Linked DNA regions of Homo sapiens: all the other regions are linked to region 2. The links are contacts of gene promoters, found by promoter capture Hi-C in blood cells and fetal thymus (Javierre and others, 2016). All regions are on one chromosome and are shown on one strand. The core of a region is centred on a gene start or on the middle of the fragment in contact, and the rest is flanking DNA. Distances in the headings are between cores, read along the strand shown. Region 1 holds the start of LOC124907747 (a long non-coding RNA gene). Region 2 holds the start of WDR43 (WD repeat domain 43). Region 3 overlaps PPP1CB-DT (PPP1CB divergent transcript). Region 4 overlaps PPP1CB (protein phosphatase 1 catalytic subunit beta).

The links. Contacts are between HindIII fragments. The CHiCAGO score rates a contact against its expected background, and 5 or more counts as called.
Region 1: a fragment that was not itself captured here is called in contact with the fragment with the promoter of WDR43 in region 2 in 1 of 17 cell types (total CD8 T cells); the score reaches 5.8 in total CD8 T cells.
Region 3: a contact is called between a fragment that was not itself captured here and the fragment with the promoter of WDR43 in region 2, in 2 of 17 cell types (naive B cells and total B cells). The highest score is 5.5, in naive B cells.
Region 4: a contact is called between a fragment that was not itself captured here and the fragment with the promoter of WDR43 in region 2, in 1 of 17 cell types (total B cells). The highest score is 5.3, in total B cells.

The regions. Positions count from the first base shown.
Region 1 is chr2:29,125,248-29,131,772 of GRCh38, reverse strand. CLIP4 (CAP-Gly domain containing linker protein family member 4) reads right to left here. Exons shown (of 16, transcript NM_024692.6): 3 at 376-515. It overlaps LOC124907747 (a long non-coding RNA gene), which reads left to right and starts at 1,425. Exons shown (of 2, transcript XR_007086264.1): 1 at 1,425-1,645; 2 at 3,959-4,608. The HindIII fragment of the contact is 551 bases long and covers 2,243-2,793 here.
Region 2 is chr2:28,891,202-28,897,296 of GRCh38, reverse strand. It overlaps WDR43 (WD repeat domain 43), which reads right to left and starts at 2,630. Exons shown (of 18, transcript NM_015131.3): 1 at 2,374-2,630. The coding sequence starts at 2,598. RefSeq lists enhancers at 1,241-1,862, 1,937-2,036, 1,863-2,486 and silencers at 2,137-2,256, 2,277-2,326, 2,367-2,426, 2,567-2,646. The HindIII fragment of the contact is 5,798 bases long and covers 1-4,334 here.
Region 3 is chr2:28,744,226-28,750,768 of GRCh38, reverse strand. PPP1CB-DT (PPP1CB divergent transcript) reads left to right here. Exons shown (of 5, transcript XR_007086259.1): 2 at 384-1,949; 3 at 2,787-2,836. Among named protein-coding and RNA genes, the nearest start is that of PPP1CB-DT, 4.3 kb to the left of the region's middle. RefSeq lists an enhancer at 2,438-2,517. The HindIII fragment of the contact is 1,968 bases long and covers 295-2,262 here.
Region 4 is chr2:28,760,776-28,767,218 of GRCh38, reverse strand. The region is part of intron 1 of PPP1CB (protein phosphatase 1 catalytic subunit beta); the gene reads right to left. Among named protein-coding and RNA genes, the nearest start is that of PPP1CB, 12 kb to the right of the region's middle. The HindIII fragment of the contact is 5,399 bases long and covers 1-4,280 here.

The sequences.
Region 1 (6,525 bases), core at 1,269-3,768, 230 kb before region 2:
TTCTTAAAGACTACATTCAAGCCTATATATTTACCAAACCAACCAAAAGTGTAAATAGAACATGATGGTAATCAAATCCCTTTATGAAATGCATAAAAGTTTACAAAATTAATTTTACAAAGAAGGAAATATGAAAAATGCCCCTCCCTGCACCCGCCAGGAGTCTACAAATGTCAGAAGTACAGAGCATGAAGAAATAATCAGAAGAATATATAGTATTAACTCACTGCCCCATGAAAATCCTGGAAATACAAATAAATATCAGAACTTTTAAAGGGTTTCTCCTTTATTACCATCTTCCTTTCAGATGGGGAAAAAAATCTATACCATTAACAATCCTAACAATGCAAAACTTAAAATGTAAGAATTCCTTACCTCATTTCCAATAATGTCAATGTTTTGTTGGACCTGAGGAACCCACTGTCTCAAAATGGCAAATAATTCTGAAACTGAAGTTTTGGGATCAAAAAGAATTTCCTGGCATGATGCATCATTAGGATCAAAGAAAGAAAATTCTGAAATAAAAAAAGATGCAAATTAAATTTACTAAAAGTTTCAAATAAATATATTGAAAATAATAAACAATAAAACCAAGGTTCAAATGATACAAATATTTTAGATGCTAAAAAAAAATCAGAAGTATCTAAATAAGGAAAATATTATGAACATTTGCTGAGCACTTACTAAATACTTTAAAAATCCTCACCAACACCTTACCTGGCAGGTATTATTCTCATTTTGCACATGAGGAAAGCAAAGCTCAGACTAAATAATACCAGCTCAACATCGCACAGCTAGTAAGTGGCAAATCTGGGGTAGAAAACCAGGTCTGTCTCCAAAGTCTATCTTCTTTCCTCTATTATTCTACTTGCTGAGGTAACTCACCACTGAGCTCAGATTGTAACAGCATGCATAAGTAGTGGGACTCATTGAGGTTTTTTTGTTTTTGCTTTCTTCTTTGCATTTATATATTTTCCAAAATTATACTATGTACACATAGTTCTTACTTCTAGAGTCAGCATAACTAAAAGATGAGAGGCACCAAACTAAAGACACATATACAAGCAGAGCAGCAGTCCATCAGAAGAGAATCAGAAAGATTGAACTGAAATGTGATAACATTCGTAAGCTTAGACAACAAAATGGTCCTGTTAGGCAAAAATCAAAATAGAAGCCAAGACAAACCTTGGCCTCTGAGCCAAAGTCCCACCCCCAGCTCAGGAAAACCTGTAAGGACCTATTCTCCAAAACACCTACTTAAACTGCACATGAAGCTTGAACTTCATTTCTTGGTCAGCATGACTCAGCACATTGCAGCAAATCAGTAATGACTAAACTAACCCACTCATTCTAACCAGTGAGAATTAAGCTGTATGAATTTCCTTTTCTAGGCTTTATAAACCTTACTATAACCTTCGTGAGACAAGCTTCTTACCACTTTTGATTTGGAAGTCTCCCTATTTGCAGTTTTTTACTAACTTAATATTTATATTAAGAAAAGCACCCTGAATTTTCTTTTGACAGTTTTTGATGTCAGAAGCAGGATCAGAAGAAGACCCCTGTGAAGCCCCAAGGCCAGTAACTAGGTGCTGGTACCCAGGGCCGCAGCACTGGCTGCTCTCTCACCCAGCCATGGAGTTCTAGAGTAAGTCTCTTTTGAATCTGAGCTCTCCTCCTTCTGTGTAGAACTCTCCAATTATGCTGAACAACCTTTGCTGAAACTTCTCAGGAAGTCAACCTATTCTGTTCAAAAGGGGGAAGGGTGAAACACATGATTCCCTGTGTTCCAGAGCAGCTGCTGAAAAAAGAATCCTTAATAGTTAAGACCTTTCAGAGAATCTAATGCAAAGATGGGGTCCAAAAACACTGTGGATCAGAATCTTGTGAACTTTACAAAGTTCACAAGAAAAAATAGGTGAACTTTACAAAGAATAATTTGCAATTTCAGTGACCACTTCGGAGAACCTTTAATTTAGGTAAGATAGTCTGCCTTTGGGAGTGCCCTTGAAGGAGGAGTATCCTAAGCCTTTTGGAGACAATGGAATGCATTCTTTGATTTGTATGCAGAAGCTGCTGAACACAAAATGACTCAAAAATAGCTTCTCTAAAAGCATCCCTACAGCACTCAAATAAAAAAAAAATCTTCACTAAAAAGCTGTAGCCATCTGAGCAGGTAACCTTGACTTGTTCCATCTCTCACAGGTACAATTTGGATCCAGCTTCTTTTATAAACCAATAAGCTTTGTATTATTTTAATTGACACATGGCTAAAATTTGGAAATGAAAGCTATAAGATCTCTGTGTCTGTCTGTATACACAAACAGACACAGAGATCTTATAGCTATGTATGTTCAATAGACATAAGTAAAAACAAGTGCTTATATAAATTAAGTATTCCTGAAAACTCTCAGAAAAATAGGAACTAATCCAAATGCTTTTCAAGTTCATGTGACTTGGGTAATTTTCAATAAACAAAAACATTGTTGGTTTAGTTTAAAAAACCAATATGCCTTCAGAGTTGTCAGCATTAGACATAAGGCAGACGTACAACTTTGATTCTATGTAGGTCTACTAGTCAAATAAGCTCATGTTAGACAAGTGAATTACAAATAAGCCTCTGCTATCTCTAAGTTACAAAATTTCTCAGCAAGAAAAACAAGATGATGCTTAGCTATTTAATGTCTCATGAAATTTTCGTAAGTAATCCAAGCATAATTGTTCAAAACAAGTGAATTAAATCAATGTAAGTCCACATAAGATAAATACTGAAACATTAATTGCTGAACATAAGCTTATCTACTTTTGGACAGAGAAACTAAAGATACCTGGGTGTGTTAGTAAACATGTCCTGTGCTACACTGAAAAATTATAATATAAGGAAACGTGCTTCTAGAAATTATGGTGTATTTACATAGATTTCTCAATCTACAGAATGCTAGCGTGACAGTCAAGAAAAAATGTGAAGTAGGAAGATATGTTTTTTGCTGAAAAAGAAAATGAAGGAAAAAAACCAAAATGGCTATAGGAAGTTCAGAAGAGGGAGAGAGAATCTTGTGTGATTAAGCTGGCTAAAATTGAATGAATCTATTATCATTCATATCAAAATAATGCATAACTAGCATTTCAGCTCCTGTTAAAACGACTAAACTTTCTTGGAGTATGGGCCTGCTCTTGATGGGAGATTGTGAAAGGTTTTTCTTTAACTTTTGAATGGTCTGCCTAGAAAGCAAAGATTCTGTATTTTGTCAAGATAATTTCATGTGCTTCGTGCTGTCTTTGATTAAGTTTCTCTCTCAAAAAGTCAAGGGGTTTTGTTTTTTTTTGTTTTTGTTTTTTTTAACAACTACATGGCTTTCTCTGTATTTGCCTTTGAAATCTTTGTCACTTTGGTTAAATGGATAACTAAATACCTGTAATCCTATTTAATCAAGTGCTTTGAATCTTGAATCTTTTGGGTATTCTTTTTATAAACGTCTCAAAAATCAAATTCTGAATGAAGTCTTTTCTGACCTTAGACTAACTCTGGGATTTTTCAACGGCCCCTAGAAAATCTTGTTCTATTTCTTTAAAAAAAAAAAAAAAAAACACAGACATTAAACTAATTAAGCATCTTTGCATGGGAAGCATTGTCAAATAAATGTGAAACTAACTAGGCTTATTTGATATGTGAAACTAACTAGGCTTATTTGATCTATTACACTGCATGAGAAGCATTGTCAAAGGTGATGCTTAACCTTATGTTATTTTTGTATGACTATATTATTAATGTAAGTGTTTTAGAAATTGTATGAAATTCCTAGAAATTGGATATGTTCTGGTATAATTTTATCAGTCATAATTCCAGTTATTATCTTCAAATGTTATAAAATAAACAACCAAATTTCCTTGTCAATTGCATTAAAATGAACTGTCATCAAATCTGTAACTATGGACATTTTAAATCTTTTGCCATCTACAGACAGTGATTTTTTACTCTGATATTTTCCTGAAAGCTTTTGCAAGCATCTGTGATACAAAATTGCTGGAAGATTTACAGAAAAGACTCTGACAAGTGCAGGTTTCTGGTAACTTTAAGATCACAGCATTGGACTGGGTAAGAATTTCCAGCACTCTAATGGAAAACCAATGGATTCATGAGGCTGCTAACCCAAAATCAAGCAGAACAAGAATTACAGGGGACTGAATGAACTGATGAGGGTGATTATAATTTTTATGTCTTTGAAATATTGCGGGTTCTTTAATGTTTGTTTTCTAGAGTTAAAGAATGCCTTTTCTCTTTTCCCTTAAGACCTACAACTTACAGCAATTTGGTGAAGAATACTTTTGTAAACAAAAATGAAACACATTTTCTTTTCTCCCTACCCCAACCCCTCCAAAATTCAGAAACTTATTGAGTATTCTTTATTTTCATGGCAATATAAATATTTACATAAGTTCAATGAAAGTTTGTTTCCCCTGTAACAGGACACAATTGGGCAAGTCCTCTGCTTGGCTTCTTAGACTGAAAAGGCTTTTTAAAGTCTAATTTCAGATTCCTTATTACCAGACAGTTTTAAGGAATTCAGATTGACTTTACAAAACCAATAAAGCCCCTTAGATATTATCAAACCTCTGACTGGAATGGCATACTTGAGAATGTGTACATATTCACTATTCTTGCTGCACTTACATATATAATCAGGCCAGCTTAATGAGACAAAACTTATTTTGCGAACAAATTAGCCTGTGATTATCTTTGGTAGAAATGGGAACTGTAGAGAGAAAAATTGTGTTTCCATAGAAAACTCTAAGTACGCCCATTATCAGATTCTAGTCCTGTTTATTGTCTTTGAGGCACTGTCCACCTATAAACTGCACTGGATCCTGAATTCCTCTAGTTTCCTCCAATATCTGGTTACAACCCTCCAAACTATTATTTCCAAATTCTTAAAACTGTCCTTTTCCCCAACCCCTACTGGATGATTTGATGTAAACTTTAGACAAATCGCCATCATGGCTCATGTAAGGAACCTTTGTGCCTGTTTCTGTGGGGGCCACTTAGAGAATTCACCAAAACATCTGATGACATCAACCAAGACATTCAAACTGCAAACCAGGAAAGTCCATCGGTAGAAACTGCCATCCTCATTTCAGCATCTCAAGATGCTCCAAGAGCAAATCTGGAAATCTTCTTAATGCCCTGCCTTCCAGAGGGCTCATTTAAATAACAATAAGTTAGACTTATTAAGTGCCTTGTAGATGCCAGGGACTGTTCTATGAACTTTGTGTATATTAATTTATTTAATCCTCATAACTACCATATGAGGTAGGCACTATTGTTATTCTCATTTTATAGAAGAAGAAACAAAGGGATAGATAATATAAACAATTTGCCCAAAATCACACAACTGGAAAGTGATTGAGTCAGGATTAATGCCAGAATAACCCAGAATGAGAACATAACCTCTAAGCTACAATGCAATAATATATTAACATATCTAACTACATTTGAATTTTCAACTTCCATAAAGGAAAATAAAGTATTTTTTATGCTGTTGCAAGCTTTTGAGATTAAATGAAAAATAGTTTTTATTTTTTTATTTTTTGTAGGGACAGAGTCTCACTCTCTCGCCCAGGCTGGCGTGCAGTGGCCGATCTCAGTGATCTCAGCTCACTGCAACCTCTGCCTCCCTGGTTCAAGCAATTCTCCTCTGCCTCAGCCTCCCAAGTAGCTGGGACCACAGGCGCACGCCACCACACACGGCTAATTTTTGTATTTTTAGTAGAGACAGGGTTTCACCATGTTGGTCAGGCTGGTCTTGAACTCCTAACCTCAGGTGATCCACCTGCCTCAGCCTCCCAAAGTGCTGGGATTACAAGTGTGAGCTACCAAGCCCGGCCTAAAAAATAGCTTTTAATCAAAAGAAAGTGGGGTGAGGGGAGAAAATGGAGGTGATGTCTACTTTAAGTCAAGATGGAATAATGAGGGCCAAATTCGCCCTTCCATCTGAAACAACCACAACACCAGAGGGAAGAACAATGGTTTTCAAGACACGGGATGTTAGACAATGAAAGACAGTGATCTCTGAGGAATGGAATACAAATGAGAAAAGTCCTACACATGCCCCAGGTAACTGCCTTGAGGGAGTCTCCAGGAGCATAGTTCAGGGGTGGGGCAGGGGGAACCAAGAAAAAGCCCAGCAAACTCGCTGAGTTGAGGAGACAGAGCTAAGTAAGAGTCTGGACTCGCTGAGTTGAAGAGACAGAGCTAAGAGTCTGGACTCACTGAGTCGAGGAGACAGAGCTAAGAGTCTGGGGAACTTGAGGCGGCCAGAGGTCACAGGGCAGAATACAGCAGAGATGGATGCACACACTCCAAGAGAAACCCAGAGACCTGTGCAGGGTCCTCCTCAACTATTCATCATATGCTTGTGAGGAAATACTTGAAGTAAGGGAAAGAACCATCCATAAGGACTACAGGGATTAGTGCCTATTCTCACAAGGAAGATTGAAAAAGAATCCTCATAATTCACACAGCATTGAGTA
Region 2 (6,095 bases), core at 1,381-3,880:
TTTTTCTAAGATATCTTGTTACAGTACATATGACTTTTTAATTTTATACCATAATATATGTGCAAGTTTGTTTTAATACAAGAAAACTGTCTCTCCTTAGTTTATAAGTCAAACTGATGCTCCAAGAGGACACACCCTCAAAGTAGGGAATGTCTCTACATTCCTTCCAGCTCTCTCAGTTCTGTGACTCAAGATTGAGAGTAACAAAATCGGGGCACTTGACCAGGAGTTCGGGGCACCATGACTCTAGAGGCCACACTCCTTTATTGGTTATTAAGGCTTGAGTCAAGTCATTTACCTTTCTTAGCTCTGATTTTCAATCAGTTTTTTTAAAATGCAATTAATTTCAGGGGATTCCATAGTCATGTGGTTAAAAGGAGACAGTGCAGATAAAACGATGCTGAAACCTAGAAAAAAATTTTGTTTAATGTAGCTCAACTCTCGTTTGTCAATGAGGTCCTCAAAATTAAAACAACTTGCTCAATATGACAAAGTAAGTTTTGAGTCTGGGCTATGAAACCAAATCCAGTTATTTTTCTAGTTTACCATAGTGTTGCACATAATCCAAAACTATGACTTTTAATATGAGATTAGGAAATTTCTCTTGGGCATACAATGCAACTGAAACTCAACAGAAAAGCAAAGTGGGTGACATTTTTTCCAACCTAATATTAACTATCTGTTGCAGATAACCAAGAACCGAGCTCTTAAGGACCTGAGTTCTAATCCTGGTTCCATTTTTTACTTTATTCAAGTTGCTTAGTTTCCCAGAGTTTCTGTTTCTTTCCCCGAAACAAGGCAGAAAGTTCCTTATCAACACTTCAGGACTAACCACACAAATATCAGATATTAATAATACTTAACACTTAAAGCACTTACCTGTCAAGAACTATTCTAAGTGTTCTCTGCATTATTAAATATATTAACCTTCACAACCACTCTATGAAGAAGATATTATTATCCTCATTTCATAAATGAGGAACCAGAGGGGCAATTACCACTATGAAGCAGAGGCTAGAATCAAATATAGACAATATAGCCAGCTTGGGTCCACGCACCTACCTAACCACTGCTCCGTATTTCTCTCAGCATTAGTATTACTATCACTTTACAGGACTGTTAAAATACAACCACAGAAAACTTTGAAAATAAAAGATAAGCAGAGCGCTGTAATTTTAACAATAAAAACTGATTTTTTTTTTAGTTTTATGTTTGACTTATAAGCCCTGATAGGTTTATTTTATGAATCAACAGGATAAACTATGAAAATGTAGCTTAAAATTTGAAAAATATCTAAACATGCCCAAAGTATAGCAACTTATATGTATCCCTTTTCCCAACCCAAAAATTTAGCAGGCTTCCCAGGTCGTCAGAGAGAGTAAGATCCTAAATAGCTTTTACAGTTCTCCACATTGAAACAGCTCACATCACACACCTCAGGATACCTGATGTTTCCAAATCACTTTGCAGTGATTCGGTTTGGCTACTCTGTAAACGCAATAACCACGTGCATGCTGAGTTAGAGAGATGTAGCTGAGTGACTCAACAGTGAAAGGCATTTACCTGACACGGGTCCCTAACAATGAAAAGCTCTGCCTAACTCGGCAGTTTTCCATCTAAGGGTAATTTCATCTGCACTCATAAAACATTCACTAAATCAAGCTACTACTTCACTTAACCTCCACATCCTAATACAGACTTCAGATTGGGGTGGGTGGGGAGCAGTGTGATCGGCTTGAAAGCGGGGCGGGAGGGGCGAGCAGATGTTAAAATCAAAAAGCAGTGAGTTCAAAAAGCTGAGAATGTAGAGGTGCCTGGGAAAGGCAAAAGTTAAGAGTTGAGAGTCCCACAACCTGGACGGGGACGAGAACACGTGGTGAGCCGGCACCCAAAGGGGGGGCAGGAGGGGGAAGGTCCGGAAGCAAGTACAGACTAGTCCATACCAACTGCCCAGTGCAAAACTGATGAGCCGGATCACAGACAGAGGAAAGTTAGATAGTCCCAAGATGGGGCTCTGTCAAAAACCAGAACTCTGATGAGCCAAGGCCCGGCAGAAGGAAGCCGCCCCAGGGGGACCAGGGGACTTGGCGAACATGGCTGCCCGTCAACAGTGGGGCCCAGGCCTCATTGGGCCAGCCGGCAGGGCTCGGATACGAGGCCGGCCGGGTCGAGCTGCGCCCTCCCTCACTGCCCTCGCGGCAGGCCGCACGCGGGGCTGGCGGCTTGGGCCCTGAACGCGCCGACGCCGCCTCCAAGCCTTCTGGCCCGGGCCGCTGAGAGCCACGCGCGATGCCGGACCACGCGCCACCCGGCCCGGAGGCCCGAAGCCGAGCCCGGGAAGGCGCCCGCCCCGCGCAGTCCCGCTCGCTTTACCTTGGCCTGCAGCCGCGCTGGCGCCCAGGCCAGACAGGTGCAGGTACCACTGAGGTGCGCGGAAGGCACGTACTCCTGGTGCAGCCGGTTGTTGGCCGTCTCCCATACTCGTAAGTGACCGTCGGTAGAGGCCAAAGCGAAGTAGGCCTGGCTGTGCGGGGAGAAGGCGCAAGGGACCCCAGCAGGGGCCAGGGGGTCGCAGCTACCGCCGCCGCCCGCCGCCATTGCTGCTCTGGCCCCGCTGCAGCCACGTGTTCGTCCGTGCGCAGGCGCACCGGCGCGGGGCGGAGCCTGGAGGAGGAAGTGAGGCGGAGGGAGCGCCGGGGGCTCAGGGAGTGGATCTTCGCGTCGCAGGAGAGCTTCTGGCGGATCCGCCCTGTGGACGGTGGCCCGCTAGGGCCTGTCGCTATCTTGTTCTGGGCGGGAGTGGGAGTATGGGAGAAAGTAATTGTAGAATTAAGATCAAGTCCTGTTCCTTTAAAAAAAAAAAAAAAGGGGGGGGGCCGGGCGCGGTGGCTCACGCCTGTAATCACAGCACTTTGGGAGGCCGAAGTGGGCGGATCCCCTGAGGTCGGAGTTCGAGACCAGCCTGACCAACATGTAGAAACCCCCGTCTCTACTAAAAATAAAAAAATTAGCCGTGGGCTGGGCGCGGTGGCTCACGCCTGTAATCCTAGCACTTTGGGAGGCCGAGGCGGGTGGATCATAAGGTCAGGAGTTCAAGACCAGCCTGGCCAAGATGATGAAACCTCGTCTCTACTAAAAATACAAAAAAATTAGCCGGGCTTGGTGGTTGGCACCTGTATGTAATCCCAGCCACTCGGGAGGCTGAGGCAGAGAATTGGTTGAACCCGGGAGGCGGAGATTGCAGTGAGCCGAGATCGCGCCCCTGCACTCCAGCCTGGGCGACAGAGCGAGACTCGTCTCAAAAAAAAAAAAAAAAAAAAAAAAAAAAAAAAAATAGCCAGGCGTGTGGCGCACGCCTGTAATCCCAGCTACTCGAGAGGCTGAGGCAGGAGAATCGCTTGAACTCGGGAGATGGAGGTTGCTGTGAGCCGAGATCGCGCCATTATACTCCGGGCAACAAGAGTGAAACTCCGTCTTAAAAAAATAAATAATAAATAAATAACAATTTTTTAAAACTTTAAAGAAAATGATAAGGTAGAACGAAAGGTTTGAAGGAAATCTTCAGCCGAGCGCGGTGGCTTACACCTATAATCCCACTTTGGGAGGCCGAGGCGGGCAGATCGCCCGAGGTCAGAGTTCGAGACCAAGCTAGGCAAAATGGCGAAACCTTGTCTCTACTAAAAATACTAAAATTAGCCGGGTGTGGTGGTGTGTGCCTGTAGTCCCAGCTACTCGGGAGACTGAGGCAGGAGACTCCTTGAACCCGGGAGGTGGAGGTTGCAGTGAGCCGAAATCGCCACGCCACTGCACTCCAGTCTAGGTGACAGAGCGAGACTGTCTCAAAAAAAAAGAGAGAGAAAAGAAGTCTTCACTTTCAAATTGATAATGATTGTAACAACTGCTTCCGTTTCCCCCTATTCAATTCCAGGCTGTAATCATTTACAAAATAACAATGTATTCAGTTATAATAATGTAAAAGTAATGATCGGAACAACTATTCCCTCCTGTTTCTCCAGATTTATCTCATGTTGCTACATCAAATAGACATTTTTAGGCACACGCCCATAGTCTGGAGGCTGAGGGAGGAGGATGGCTTGAGCCCACGAGGTCGAGGCTACAGTGAGCTATGACTGCTCCACTGCACTCTACCCTGGGTGACATAGTGAGATCCTGTATCCAAAAAATAAAGGGTAGATTTTTATATTTCTCCTAAATATTCACCAAATCAATGCATTCTAATTCAAGGAATGCTAGGTACTGTTCAGCCCACACAGAGCCTATTGCCTGCCAGGAAAGATAAAAACCACTCTCATGGCCATGGGAAGGCTCAAGCTTTTACAGCTACGGAGCAGCATGGTAAGATTTGCATTTTATTGTTTTCTTGTTTGTTTTTGTGTTTTGAGACAGAGTCTCACTCTGCCCAGACTGGAGTGCAGTGGCACAATCTCAGCTCACTGCAACCTCCACCTTCCGGTTCAAGTGATTCTCCTGCCTCAGCCTCCCAAGTAGCTGGGATTACAGGCGTGTGCCACCACGCCTGGCTAGTTTTTGTATTTTTATTAGAGATGGGGTTTCACCATGTTGGCCAGGCTTGTCTGGAACTCCTGACCTTAAGTAATCTGCCCGCCTCAGCTTCCCAAAGTTCTGGGATTATAGGCGTGAACCACTGTGCCTGACCAATATTTGCATTTTAGAAAGATTACATGGAGACAGTGTAATGAATGTATTAGAAGGAAGCTAGGTTGGAGGCTCGAAACCCCAGGTGGAGATGATGGTGAGTGGCTTGGAGAAATAGCGATGCAAGGAAGTTTCAAGAGTGTTTATTATGTACAATGAGCCGGATTTCAAGTGGCCAAGGGAGAGATAGAGAAACGGCCAAGGATTACTCATTGAGCTTTTACAGGGAGAGACTGGTTGGTGACCCAATTCACTTAGGATAGTGAATCCTGGAAGATTTTTGTGCAAGAAGATGATAGTGTCTTTAGTCTGGGAATGCTAAATTTGAGACATCTAATTTGGCACTTGGATTCATTCAGTTACTCAAACAAACTGAATGCCTGCTATGTGCCAGGCACTGTTTTAGGGTACCAGGAATCTACCAGTGATCATGAGAGACAAGATTCCTGCTTTCATGAAGCTGACATTCTAATCAGGGAAGCACATAATAAACAAACAAAGAAAACTCTATTTCAGCTAGTGCAAGCTGCTATAAAGAGAAATAAAGCCGGAGGAGGGAAAAGAGTTTAAGTATTGAAAGGAATTAGGGACAGCCTCACTCAGACCATGCAATATCAGAAGGAAGAGCAGTCAACCTGGGGAGAATAGCAAGTGCAAAGACTGAGGCAACAAAGACCTTGACTAGTGGAAAGAAAAAGCTTTGGAGAAACTTAGGGTAGATAGTGACAACTAGAAAAATCAAAGGTAGCAGCTGAGTTCAGAGGGAGCCAGACTATTTAGTACCTTGTAAATCAGAGTGAAGTATTTGGATTTTATTATAAGTATGATAGAAATAAGCCACTGGAGAATTTTAATGTTTTTTTTTAAGAGGTGGGGTCTTTCTGTGTTGCCCAGGCTGATCTTGAACTCCTGCACTCAAGGAATCCTCCTGCCTTGGCCTCCCAAAGTGCTGGGATTACAGGTGTGAGCCACCACATCCGGCCCCCTGCAGTTTTGAGCAATGAAATAACATGATCTGATTTATATTATTGAAAGACATCCTGGCTGCTAGATGAAGTCTGTAGGCAAGAATAAAAGCAGAAAGACAAGGTAGAAGGCTGTGGAGTAGTAGTCGGGACAAGGACAATGATTGGTAGGACTCTGATGAAAGCAATGAAGGTAGCGAAAAATGATCAGATTCCAGATATAATCTGAAGTTAGAGCCAACAGGAATTGCTAAATGAATTGACTGTGAAGGGTGAGGAAAACAGATGAATGAAGAGTGACTCTGATGCCTGGGCAAATAAGTGAATAGTGATACCATTAGCTAAATTGGGGAAAGAGTTTTGGGTGGAATGGAGATCAATCTTTGCACTTGCTGTTCTCTGCACACTGACTGCCCTTCCTTCTGACCTTGCAGAGCCAGAGTGAGGCTTTGC
Region 3 (6,543 bases), core at 29-2,528, 150 kb after region 2:
GCTAACATTTGTTCAGATCCCTGTATGTACTCTGCCACTGTTTTAAATGTTACACCCGGGTTACCTCATTTAATCCTTACAACTGCCCTGTGAGGTAGGTACTATTATTATCTCTACTTTGTAGATGGGATTCACCGAGGCACAGACGGTTAAAAAACCTAGCCCAAATAACACAAATAAACAGCAGAGCATGCAGTGCTAGAGTCTGCATTCTTAACAATTGCTATATTCTCCCTCTCCGTGAATGTGGGCTGAGATGCTGAAACAGGCATGTGCTGTGGGGGAGAAAAAGCTTTGTCCAACCAAGTGCTTTCTAATGTCCAGATGACATAGAGCTAGGATTTCCTAATGTCTTTTTTCCCCTATTTTTCTCTCCATTTCAGGGTTGAGTTTGTGCATCGATTGTGAACACAACAGGCAGCAGGCTATAATGGTGGTCCTGGCTGGAGTAGTTTTCACAGACTTCAGTAATCTGTGGAGATGAACGGGCAGTTCTCTGTAGTTTTCACAGATCACTGCCAGTTCGTTTTGAGGCCTTCAGGAGTGAAGACCTGGCTCATCATCACTCTTTGTTGTTTTGTTAAATTTATTTACACCCTACTTTATTCCAGAGGAAAGGATTTAACGTAGTTTACATAAATGTGTACATCAGGGTAAATTAAAAATAAGTACAGAGAAAAATAGGACAAAAGAAAACCGTGAGTGTGAAAGATAAGATTAAGCCAGCAGTTTTGTATGCAAAATGCATGGTGTAAGGTCCTATTGGTTTGCTGGAGGTAGGCCACACATATGACTCTCAGTTTTCTAGCAACCAAGAAAAAGATCAGTTGCAATCGGAGTAGGTGTTTTGGCTAAGCTGGAACTAGGACTTGAATATAGCAGCTTGTAGAGTTATACCACTTGCCCAAATCTCTTCCATGAGCCTCTTTAAGTGTAACAGAATGCCTGGGAGCACGTAAATGCTCCTACTTAGATGCCTACTTAGCCTCTAATTTTCATGGGGCCCATGAATCCCATGAAAAAGAACTTTGAACCCTGTCCACAATTAGAGTTCAGGTATACGCAGACATGTTTAAAGACAAGGGACACCCAAAGGAAAGATTGCACAGAGAGAAAGTGAGCATCCGAGAGAAAATCACCACAAGTGAGGCAGAGGGAGGCCGGTCTCAGCAGAGTTTTGGAGGTCGTGAGAAGAAGAGGTAGGAGATAGGAGAGTGGTTCCGAGTACTTGCCTGCTGATGTTACCTTCTCCACCCCCACCAGGTTTTCCAGTGCCTGGAGTCTTGGGCAGGAATGGGCCACTGTAAGAAAGAGCTTTATCACTAGGGCCTCAGCCAACTTTTCTGTGGGATATCCCTCCAAAATAATTAAGAGTTCAGAATGCTTCAGATTTTGAAGTGAAACTGGTACATATATTAAGTGTTACTTAATAACCCGATAGTTTCTAGGGCAGCTCACCATAATCCCAAGTATTAGCCACCACCCTCACCCCCTTCAGAGTAAAATGTGTTTCCTGAAGGAAGTTGGGAAAATGAAGAAAAAAAATACAAAAATCACCTATAATCTTACCAGTCATAGATGGCAGTTTTCCTGTCTTATTTCTGAATAATGGTTGTTAAACATTTGCCAGCACACCATAAGGCTTAGGGAGGCATCTGGGTCATGCATGTTAATATCCTTGGGTAATTCCAGAAATCTCTATGAAGGGAAACTCCTGTTATTTATCTAGACTTCCTGATTGCAAGGGGTTTGGGCATCATGATTTAGGGGTCTTAATAAAATTATTATTTTATTTTTACTAATAGATAATGTCTGTGCCTATCAGATAAAGGCAAACCAGTGCTCAGAGGAACCCAACCATCTCTGAATTGAGACCAGAGAGCTGTCTCTATGGATAGTCCTTAGAGAAGGCATTTCGGAACACAGTAAACAGCAGCCTGGTGACTCCGGTTAGTAAACGCAGCAAAGACTTTCATAGGGATGTTTTTCTTATATGCCTGTCAGTATTAGCCAGTAGCCAATCTGGTGTGAAAGTGAGTAAGTTTAGGTAGCAAAATGTGGAGGGGGTGATATATAGTTTTTTGCTGCTCTGGCTTAATCCAAGATGACTTTTAAATGAATGAATCAACATTCATTGGGCTGTCCTTCCATAAATATGATTCTTCTCAATCAAGTGTTTAATAAGTCTTAAGTAGTGGTAAGTTGAAATTTTACTAGTTGTATCTGGAGGTCAGCCATTCTTTATATCGCATGCATTAAGCTTTTATAGTCAGCTCAATTCAAGAAAATTGGAAAACCAGACAAGGACATATATGCATCATTAGGAGGCCACCTCTCTCAATACAGAGCCAGGCCTAGGTGGTACAGCCAGGCAGGGCCAAGATTTGTTCTTAAGATTTAGTTTTGGTTTCATTTCATTATACATATGAGAATAGCCAAAATTATAGCTAAGCCATAAGGCATGTCCTCAGCCAGTTTAGTCCCCCAGAATTATAAGGCAAATATAAATAAATGCCTCCTTCCCTGCCCTTGGTCAGTAACCTCCCCGGTGGCCCCAACCAACTCTCTCTTCTCTCTCTCTCAGTTTGTCTTAAGCTAACTCCATAGTACATCCGTATCTTTCAAGATAAAGTGATTGAAAAATAAATGTCTAGTAATTGAAGGAGTTAACTGGCTATTTAGAACTGTTAACTATAAGGCAATTAAAGCTAGGTGAACAGCTACCACAAGTAATGACTATTTAATTGTTGAAGAGTTTATCTGTGGCCTTTTTTTCTTGTAATTAGATTACAGGGCCAGTTGCCTTTGTTACAATAAAAGCAAGTCATCTACACAGGTAAGAATGTTTCTCTTTTATTGCTCCCCCCTCCCCCCATCCTGCTCACTGAAATGGATACCAGGAAATAACTGTTTGATGAGGGAAAGTATACAATATGTGAATATTTGTTTCAAATGAAACAGTGTACTGTAAATGTTTTGTTTCTTGTTGCTCTGTTTCTCCTGTAGTATATCCAAATCACATATAATTCACCTTTTCAGTTGGAGGTTTACCGCTAAATGGCTTAATTTTTTTTCTTTTTTTGAGACAGAGCCTCACTCAGGCTGGAATACAGTGGCTCATTCACAGCTAACTGCAGCTTTGACATCTCAGGCTCAAGCAATCCTTCTGCCTCAGCCTCCGTAGTAGCTGAGACCATAGGCATGTGCCACCATGCCCGGCTATTTTTTTTTATTTTTAGTAGAGACAGGGTCTCGCTGTGTCAGGCTGGTCTCGAACTCCTGGGCTCAAGCAATCCTCCCACCTCGGCCTCCCAAAGTGCTGGGATTACAGGCATGAGCCACCGCACCTGGCCCTAACTGGTTTTTATGTCTCTGTTTCAATTGGGTTTTGGTAGATAAGACAAGGAAAGCATTACTTTTTTTATGTAGTTATAAAATGAGTAGCTTCTCATAATATATAAGACCACATTAAAATTAATAGCATATGTCTGTTAAAACTAAAGCCAAACTATTTGTGAGCTGTGAAATATATTCATCAGAGTTACATCCAACACCAATAGGTCTTTTATATAGGAAACACTGGTTAAATAGAATATTTATTAATTATTATTTAAATCTTGATTTAAACCAAATCCAGTCTATCATAATAAGTTCTTAATTGAAATGCTCTATGGTACTTGTTATTTAAGAAAACCTTACAGTGAATAGACCTCTGAAGCAAAAAGAATAATGAACCAATTAAGTATTTATGAAACACTTAGTGAGTTTGAGTCTGTGTTGAAGAAGGCATGACTTCCCAACTTTCAAGTTGTTTAATGACTATGTGGGAAAATGACCACAAAATGACTTGGATAGTGGGAAAAGCATTGGCTTGGAGGTGGGAGAACAAAGCAGCTGAATAACCTTAGACAATTCAATCTTTCTGAACCTTGGATTCATTACCTACAAAATGTGCCCATTAATAAATGATTTCCAAAGCTTCTTCTAGCTCAAACAAGTCTCTGATTCTAAGACATACAAATAAAACCCAAAATGTAACATAATATTGTACATGCCGTCCCCAGCTCAGGAACTGGACCAACTCCAAAGGGTCAATTGTTCGGAACATGGAATATATTTTCCCACAGAGACTGTGGTACAAATGGTGGTTAAACTCTCAGATCAGTCTGCAAAATCAATTTAGTCCTTAATGTAACTATAGAAGAGTGTCCATGGCAATATAGACTCTAGCCACCAATTATAACAGAGTTTATGGGGAATATTTATTGAGGATTCCTATTTGGCATGGCAGAAAACATCTCTCAGTGTTTTCTACTACCCTGAGCAATAGACGTGAAGACAAGTCTAGTTCCAATTTACAGACAGACCTGGACCCTATATGGGAGACAAAGGCTGGGCTGGCAGCATAGAGGGCAAGGGATGCTCTGATACCTTTGAATCCTTGGGGGGCGGGGGGGAGTGGGGGCAGGGCATGGTGGGCTGAGCACAGTTCATGACATCTTGGGGTTTGGTTGCCAGGAAGGAGCTGGCTCCCAAACCAAAGGATAGGGAATGTGAAGGCAGAAGGAAGAAAGGGAGTAAATATATTGTGCTGGGAACTTTTTTTAAAAAAGATACAATTACTTTTAATCTCACTTTGCGATTGAGGAAGTTGTGATCTAGAAAGGTTAAATTATGGCTGGGCTTGGTGACTCATGCGTGTAATCCCAGCACTTTGGGAAGCCGAGGCAGAAGGCTTGCGTGATCCCAGGAGTTCAAGACCAGTCTGGGCAACATAGCAAGGCTTCATCTCTACTAAAAAAATTCAAACTTGGCCAGTCCCTGTGGTATGCACCTGTAGTCCTAGCTACTCTGGAGACTGAGGCAGGAGGATCCCTTGAGCATAGGAGGTTGAGGATGTGTTGAGCTATGATCATGCCACTGTACTCCAGCCTGGGTGACAGAGCAATACCTGTCTCTAGAAAACAAAAACAAAGTTAAATTGCATTGATTTACTAGCAAAACGAGGACTTGAATCTCAATCTCTCCATCTCCTTCAGATTTTTACTCGAAAGCCTTCATACTGTGCAAGAGCCTACTCTTTTTGTCCCCTCTCCTTCCTGCACAAGAGCACCCTAGAACCCAGGGTCCCCATGCCCACCGTTATTCCTATTTTTCATTCTCTACTTTTCAGGGCAACCTGCTCAGCAATGAGCACAGCATTTTTCTGTTTTGCCCCTGTGTGTTTTAACGGTGCAGTCACCTCAAAGAATGACTTTATTGTTGCTAAAAAAAGGTTGCTCTCGCTCCTCATAGTCCAGTCCAGGTTTTAACAAACCACCCAGAGAATGTGATTGAGTGATCCCAAGCTCTAAGAACATTTAGGTACTTCTAGTAGTGACATTCCTATTAAGACAGAGCCCAGCTTGGCTGGGAGATCCAATGTCCCCATGCCCAGGTGACAGGCATTGCTCCTTTGTCAGAAAGGTTCCTGGCTGGAGGTTCATAAGTGTACCATGTGCTGGGAATTTTTACTGACATGATCACAATTAATCCCTCAGAAAATCCTGTGAAGTAAGTAGTTTCCCTTTTATAGATGTGGGAATGAATCAAGACTCAGAGGCTTTGACTTGTCTTTAGGCACCAGGTCAGTCCAATTCTAAAGCCCTGGCTGGAATACCCAGGCAGTGTGATTTAGAGATGCTGGGCTAGTTAGGTGGACTAGCTCTGGGACTCTGTTGTGAGAAAAAGTGAGTGGCGATGGGGTGGGGCAGCGGATGTAACTTGATGGCAAGGATTGTCAACTTACAGCAGGAAAATTTTGGGTGAGGAGGAGCAGAATATGGGTGGTTCTGGCAGCGAGACAGTCTTCAGGAATGAGAAGGAGAGGTCATCCCCAGCTACCTCCAGGAGAAAGGTAGGGAATGCCTTCCCTGCACATCTGAGGGGCTTCTTGGCCAGACAGACATTCACAATAAGCAACTCTCTTTTGTCCACATTCCTTTTTTAAAAATTTTTATTTTCGGTTTGGTGGTACATGTGAGGGTTTGTTACATAGATAAACACATGTCATCAGGGTTTGTTGTACATATATTACATCACCCAGGTATTAAGTTCAGTACCCACTAATTCTCTTTTCTGCTTCTCTCCCTCCTCCCACCCTCCCGCCTCAAGTAGACCTTAGTGCTTGTTTTCTTTTTTGTATTCGTAAGTTCTTATCATTTAGCTCCCACTTATAAGTAAGAACATGTGATATTTGGTTTTCTGTTTCTGAATTAGTTTGCTAAGGATGGTAGCCTCCAGCTCCATCCATGCATCCATGTTCCCTCAAAAGACATGATCTTGTTTTTTTTGTTGTAGTTGTTAGTTTGTTTTTGAGACAGAGTCTCCTTCTGTTGCTTAGGCTGGAGTGTAGTGCCATGATCTCGGCCCGCTGCGATCCCCACCTCCTGGGTTCAAGTGATTCTCCTGCCTCAGCCTCCTGAGTAGCTGGGATTACAGGCATCCGCCACCACGCCCGGCTAATTTTTGTGTTTTTAGTAGAGACAAGGTTTTGCCATGTTG
Region 4 (6,443 bases), core at 332-2,831, 130 kb after region 2:
CTGCAACTCAAGTTTCCAAGTGGCCCATTTGTTAGCCAAGTTAAGTCATTTATCAATGGTGGGTTAATTAAATTGTATCTGATTGGAAAAGCTGAAGAACTATGTATTTTTTGAGACAATAAACTTTTTTTTTTTTTTGAGATGGAGTCTTGCTCTGTTGCCCAGGCTGGACTGCAGTGGTGTGATCTCGGCTCACTGCAAGCTCTGCCTCCCTGGTTCACGCGATTCTCCTGCCTCAGCCTCCCAAGTAGCTGGGACCACAGGTGCCCGCCACCACGCCCGGCTAATTTTTTGTATTTTTAGTAGAGACGGGGTTTCACCATGTTAGCCAGGATGATCTCAATCTCCTGACCTCGTGATCTGCCTGCCTTGGCCTCCCAAAGTGCTGGGATTACAGGCGTGAGCCACCACCCCAGCTGAGACAATAAACTTTTAAACGCCATTAGCCTTTCTGTAAAAACGGTGCTTGAAGAGTTGAGAACACTGGGAGCAAAATTAGTAAACAATTAAAAAACAAGCCAAATGGTTCTGAGTGGTGTTCCTTGGCTCTCGATGACAGGTATTACCAATACTTGTTATTTGGGGAGCCAATCCTCATTCGAAGTGACTGAAAAGTTACCCTCTATAAATAATCTATGTGGAACAACTAGAGGCAAGAATATTCTCAAAGCAGCTGAGAAAAACTATTTTAGTACAACCTGAAGTGTAATCTGCTAAGATATGTCACAACTGATGATGGTAAAGTAGAAAAATACTTAGTTGGACTATTTTACAAAGTCTGAGAAAATGTAGGATGTTTGAAGTCTGGTGCAGTTTTTTTGTGGAAAAATATCTTAATCAGGTATTACTGAACCACAGGCATCAATGGTCAACTTCATTTGCTCTAATGAACTTAACCACTGTCAGTTACATGACTATTTGTTAGTAATAAAAGCTGAATATCCTCATTTGGCCAACCACACAGGATTTTGATGGCTTAGCAGTGACAGCTTTATTGTAATTTATTTGCATTCAGGGCTGATACTGAATTTTTTCTAAACAAGAACCACCACCCTCAATCACTATTACCAAACACAGAAGAGTTTTAGAAATTAAATTTTGCGGCAGATCTAGTAATTTTTCCCCTTTTAATTCGAGGTAGCCTCTATTCTACAAAATAGAATGAAAGCTCCCCTAAATGTTTTCTAATAAATTCAGCCTAAAATTATAAGGCAAAAAAATATATGAGAAACTTCCATTGTGGTAAGTCATTCTGACAACTAATACTGTCTGAATTAAAGCAAGTTGCTTTATTTTTTAATTTTTTACTTTTTGAGATGTGGTCTTGCTTTATTGCCCAGGCCAGAGTGCAGTGGTGTAATGAGGCTCACTACAGCCTACTGGCTCAAGACATTCTCCTGCCTCAGCCTCCCAAGTAGCTGGGACTATAGGCACATGCCACCACACCTGGCTAATTTAATTTTCTATAAAGACAAGGTCTCACTATGTTGCCCAGGCAGGTCTCAAACTGCTGAACTCAAGTGATCCTCCTGCCTCCGCCTCCCAAAGTGCTGGGATTAAAGGCGCGAGCCACCATACCCAGTCAGCAAACTGCTTTATACATAACCCGTGCTGCCAAGTTAAGACAAGTGAGATCTTCATTCCCACACAATTTTGCAGCAGATACATTTTTTCAAACTCAAACTAGCATTCTTCAAACCTTGACTCAAGCGCAAAAAAAATTTCCATATATCAAAATCCATTTAACTGTGCAGCCGAGGAGCTTCCACCTAACCCTCTACTGGAAGTGATTAATCTGCAATGTAATGACATGCTGAAAGGCAAGTATCAGGAGAATTCTATAAATGCTTTCCAAGTGATGAATATGCAGTATGTCCCTGTGTAAAAAGACATCTTCTAAGATGAAATACATAGAATCTCACTACAGATCAGCATCAAGAGATGACCACTTGCAATCAGTTTTGATGACAGAGAACATTAACTTTGAATCTCAATTAAGCAAAATGTGTATCCTCTCCCAAAAGAATTCTGTCCTTTACTCAACCATTATATTTCACATTTTATATCAGTGTAAAAACTTTTCCATTGCAGGTTTGTCTTTCCAACGCACATATCCAAGGGTATGTGATATATATGTGTCTGTGTGTTGTGTGTATACTAAATTTTACTTTTCACTAACCTTATGCTACTTTCCCCAGCAAGTTCTTACTTATCATTACCTCTCTAAAACAGAAAAGATGGCAAGAAAAAAGCACTAATTCCAACACCTATGCACGGTGTCTCATAAATTTTTTTTTTTTGAGACAGGGTCTCTCTGTCACCCAGGCTGGAGTATAATGGCATGATCTTGGCTCACTGAAACCTCCACCTCCTGGCTTCAGGTGAATCTCCTACCTCAATCTACTGGGTAGGTGGGATTACAGGTGTGTGCCACCATGCCCAGCTAATTTTTTGTATTTTTAGTAGAGACGGGGTTTCGCCATGTGCCCAGGCTCGAACTCCTGACCTCAAGTGATCCACTCGCCTTGGCCTCATAAAATCTTAGTAATCTTCACTGACCACTGGTATTCTAACTCTTACTCAACCCCCACCCCCAAGATTACATACTAATTAATGGCAGTTAAATCTAGACATCCTAATTTTTTCCTAGCATTTTCTCCATATTTAGCACAAAAGCCTGCTTTTAAGCAACAAAAAGGCAGAAAAATAAAAATTCTACAATTGGCTAAAATGTGGAGTCTCTCTTTTTTTTTTTTTTTGAGATGGAGTCTCGCCCTGTTGCCTAGGCTCGAGTGCAGTGGCACAATCTCAGCTCACTGCAAGCTCTGCCTCCCGGGTTCACGCCATTCTCCTGCCTCAGCCTCCCGAGTAGCTGGGATTATAGGTGGGTGCTACTATGCCCAGCTAATTTTTTGTATTTTAAGTAGAGACGGGATTTCAGCATGTTAGCTAGGATGGTCTCGATCTCCTGACCTCGTGATCCGCCTGCCTCGGCCTCCCAAAGTGCTGGGATTACAGGCGTGAGCCACCACGTCCAGCCCCCTTTGCTTTTTCATTCTTTCTCTCTTGCTTTTCTTCTCCCTCTCCCACTCTGTCTTCCTTTCCTCCCCATCTTTCTCTATGCACACAACACACACACGGTTTTAAGTGAAAAAAAATTAGGCAGCTGCTGTACTTCCCTCTCATCTTAGGACTGCCTGTTAACAATAATTAATGTGGGCCGGGCATGGTGGCTCATGCCTGTAATCCCAGCATTCTGGGAGGCTAAGGTGGGCGGATCAGGAGGTCAGTTCAAGACCAGCCTGACCAACATGCTGAAACCCCGTCTCTACTAAAAATACGAAAATAAGCCAGGTGTGGTGGCGCGCACCTGTAATCCCAGATTACTCGGGAGGCTGAGGCAGGAGAATCGCTTCAACCCGGGAGGCAGAGGTTGCAGTGAGCTGAGATGGTGCCACTGCACTCCAGCCTGGGTGACAAAGTGAGACTCCGTCTCAAAACAAAAGAATAACTAACGTGGATTCAGAGACCAAAATGGCCTTTAGTGGCTCTGTATAGTACCACAAATTGTCTGTAATATTGTGTATATGTAAAAATATTTTTCTGAGAAGGCCCATGGCTTTCATGAATTCACAAAGCATAAGTAAAAAGTCATTTCAGGTACATTGGTAAACAAATAGCAAGTATAATGAGAAAAGAGTGAAGAAGAAAAGTGACAGATATAGGTGAGGGCTAGACATTTCAGGAATAAAGGACTTTTTTTTTTTCCACTGCACTGACATCTGCTTTGATAATACAAAAGCAAGGATGGGTAAAACTGTTAAGTGTCTCAGTACACACCAAGTCAGTGGCACCAAACCCCACTGGTAGTCAGTCACTGTGTTGTTCATTGCAACACACATGCAGTGAAACACAAAAAAGGCAGCTTCATGTATGCCCTTTGGTAAAGCAGTACAAATGATCAATTTTATTAAACTTCAATCTTTGAATACATCTCTTTAATAATCTACATGATAAAATGGAAATGCCCACAAAGCACTCCTGCTCCATCCCAAAGTACAATGGTTGTCGCAAAGGAAAGCACTCCTGTGACTGTTTTAGTTCCAAGCAGACCTAGACACTTTTTTTCACTAAACACTTTTACTGGAAAGTATTAACTGACAAACTATGGTTATTCAGACTTAGATATTCAACAGATACACGTGAACATGAACAAAGTGACCCTGTCATTTCAAGGAAAACAACTGACAGTACTTGTTGCCAATGATAAAATTCAAGCTTTCAAGTTACAAACTAAAATTCTAGAAACCTTGTAATCAGCACCATGAATCTGACAGCTTCTCCATAATTAAGGACTCTTCTGATGAGATCTTGTAACATTAACAAATGTCATTTCTGGATACTGTATTAGATAATAAGCTGTTTCAACATCTGGACATCTGCATAACTCAGCTGAATCAATATTATCCAAATGAACAACGCGTATTATAAAGTCATGTGTAAGATCCATTTAAAGTACAAGAAAGATCAATGGATTTTAATGTAAGAGAACATAAAAATTCATGGATATAATTTCAGATTCCACATCTCTTTTAAAATTCACCTTTAAAAAACCACCACTTGCTGATTTTTGGTATAAACATCAGAGAATACCCACAATTATCTAGAACAGCTATTAAACTACTCCTCCTTTTTCTAACTACGTATCTGTAGGACTACAGACTTTCTTCATATTCAACTAAAACAAGGTATCAAAAGACTGAAACAAAACAGAGATGTGAATTCAGCTGTCTTCTGTTAAAAAGACATTAGATTTGCATAAAATGATGGCACTTCTCACATTTTTGCTTTAGAAAAGTTATCTTCATAAAAAACATTTATGCTAAAATGTAATATGTTGCTACTTAAAGAACAGATATTTATTTATTTATTTAGAGACACAGTCTCACTCTGTCGCCCAGGCTGGAGTGCAGTGGCGCAATCTCAGCTCACTGCAACCTCTGCCTCCCAGATTCAAGCAATTCTTGTGCCTCAGCCTCCCAAGTAGCTGGGAATACAGGCATGTGACATCACGCCCAGCTAACTTTTTTATATTTTTAGGAGATGGGGTTTCACCATGTTGCCCAGGCTGGTCTTGAACTCCTGGCCTCAAGCAATTCCACCCGCCTCGGCCTCCCAAAGTGCTGAGATTACACGTGTGAGCTACCATGCCCGGCCGAGAACAGAAATTTTTAAATTCTCAGTTTTAACTTCTAATGCAATATTGTTAAATACCTCACATAAATAAAAGCTCGTTTTCAATTCTTTACATATATGGAGAATTTGAGTGTAAGAGGGTCTCAAGACTCAAAGTTTAAGATACACTGCCCTATAGTTCCTGGCCAAAAGCAAGCATACAACAGTGTTAAATCACTTTTCACCATTTTATCCTACCTAGAAATACCTTTCCCTCTCAGCACCAACACTGATATGTCAAACCAGATTATAAACGCTGAATAATGGGAATAGTAAAGAAACTGTTATACGTACTTACATACAAGAATAGTGGTTATATGCAATAAACAGAAAGTGGAGGAAACAGTATCTGTCACATACTTACAAGAAAGCCTTCTCAAAATTAGTATGGGGAAGTTCCAGGACTCAGTGGCACAAAGAGCTCTCTGTTAGTATTTCCTAGCTCAGGTTTGTACTAAGCAATAATGACGGCTAACATTTTCTGACCTTTAATGTGTCAAGAATTGTTTGAAGGCACTTACTATCATATATGCAGAAGAAACTGGGGCTGAAATACACCCAGAATCTGTGTCGTTAATCATTATATAAGATGGCATCCCAATGTATCAATACTTATTAATATTTGAGTAAACACTTAACTGAGTAAACATCTGATTATCATTCAGGATTCACATAATTCTAGTAGTTGGGAGTCCGAAATTCACAAAAGCTATTCCTTTCTGTCATCTAAAATCAGACCTCACTCTTTCTCACTGACAGGTTTGCAAGTTTCTCCCCCTCAGAAGTCTGGTCTCGGCCGGGCGCGGTGGCTCACCCCAGTAATCCCAGCAATTTGGGAGGCCAAGGTGGGCAAATCACAAGGTCAGGTGTTCGAGATTTAGTGAAATCCCATCTCTACTACTAAAAATACAGAAAATTAGCTGGGCATGGTGGCAGGCGCCTGTAATCCCAGCTACTCAGGAGGCTGAGGCAGGAGAATCGCTAGAACCCAGGAGGCGGAGGCTGCAGTGAGCCGAGACTGCACCACTGCACTCCAGCCTGGACAACAGTGTGAGACTCCATCTCGGAAAAAAGAAAAGGTCTGGTCTTTTTGTCTCGCTAGTTTGGCTCAAGTATTTGATAGTAATTTAAATAAAACGCTCAATTCAAACCACATTGAGGAAACATACAAGTACCTATAAAGATTCCTTCTTAATTTACTATTTAAA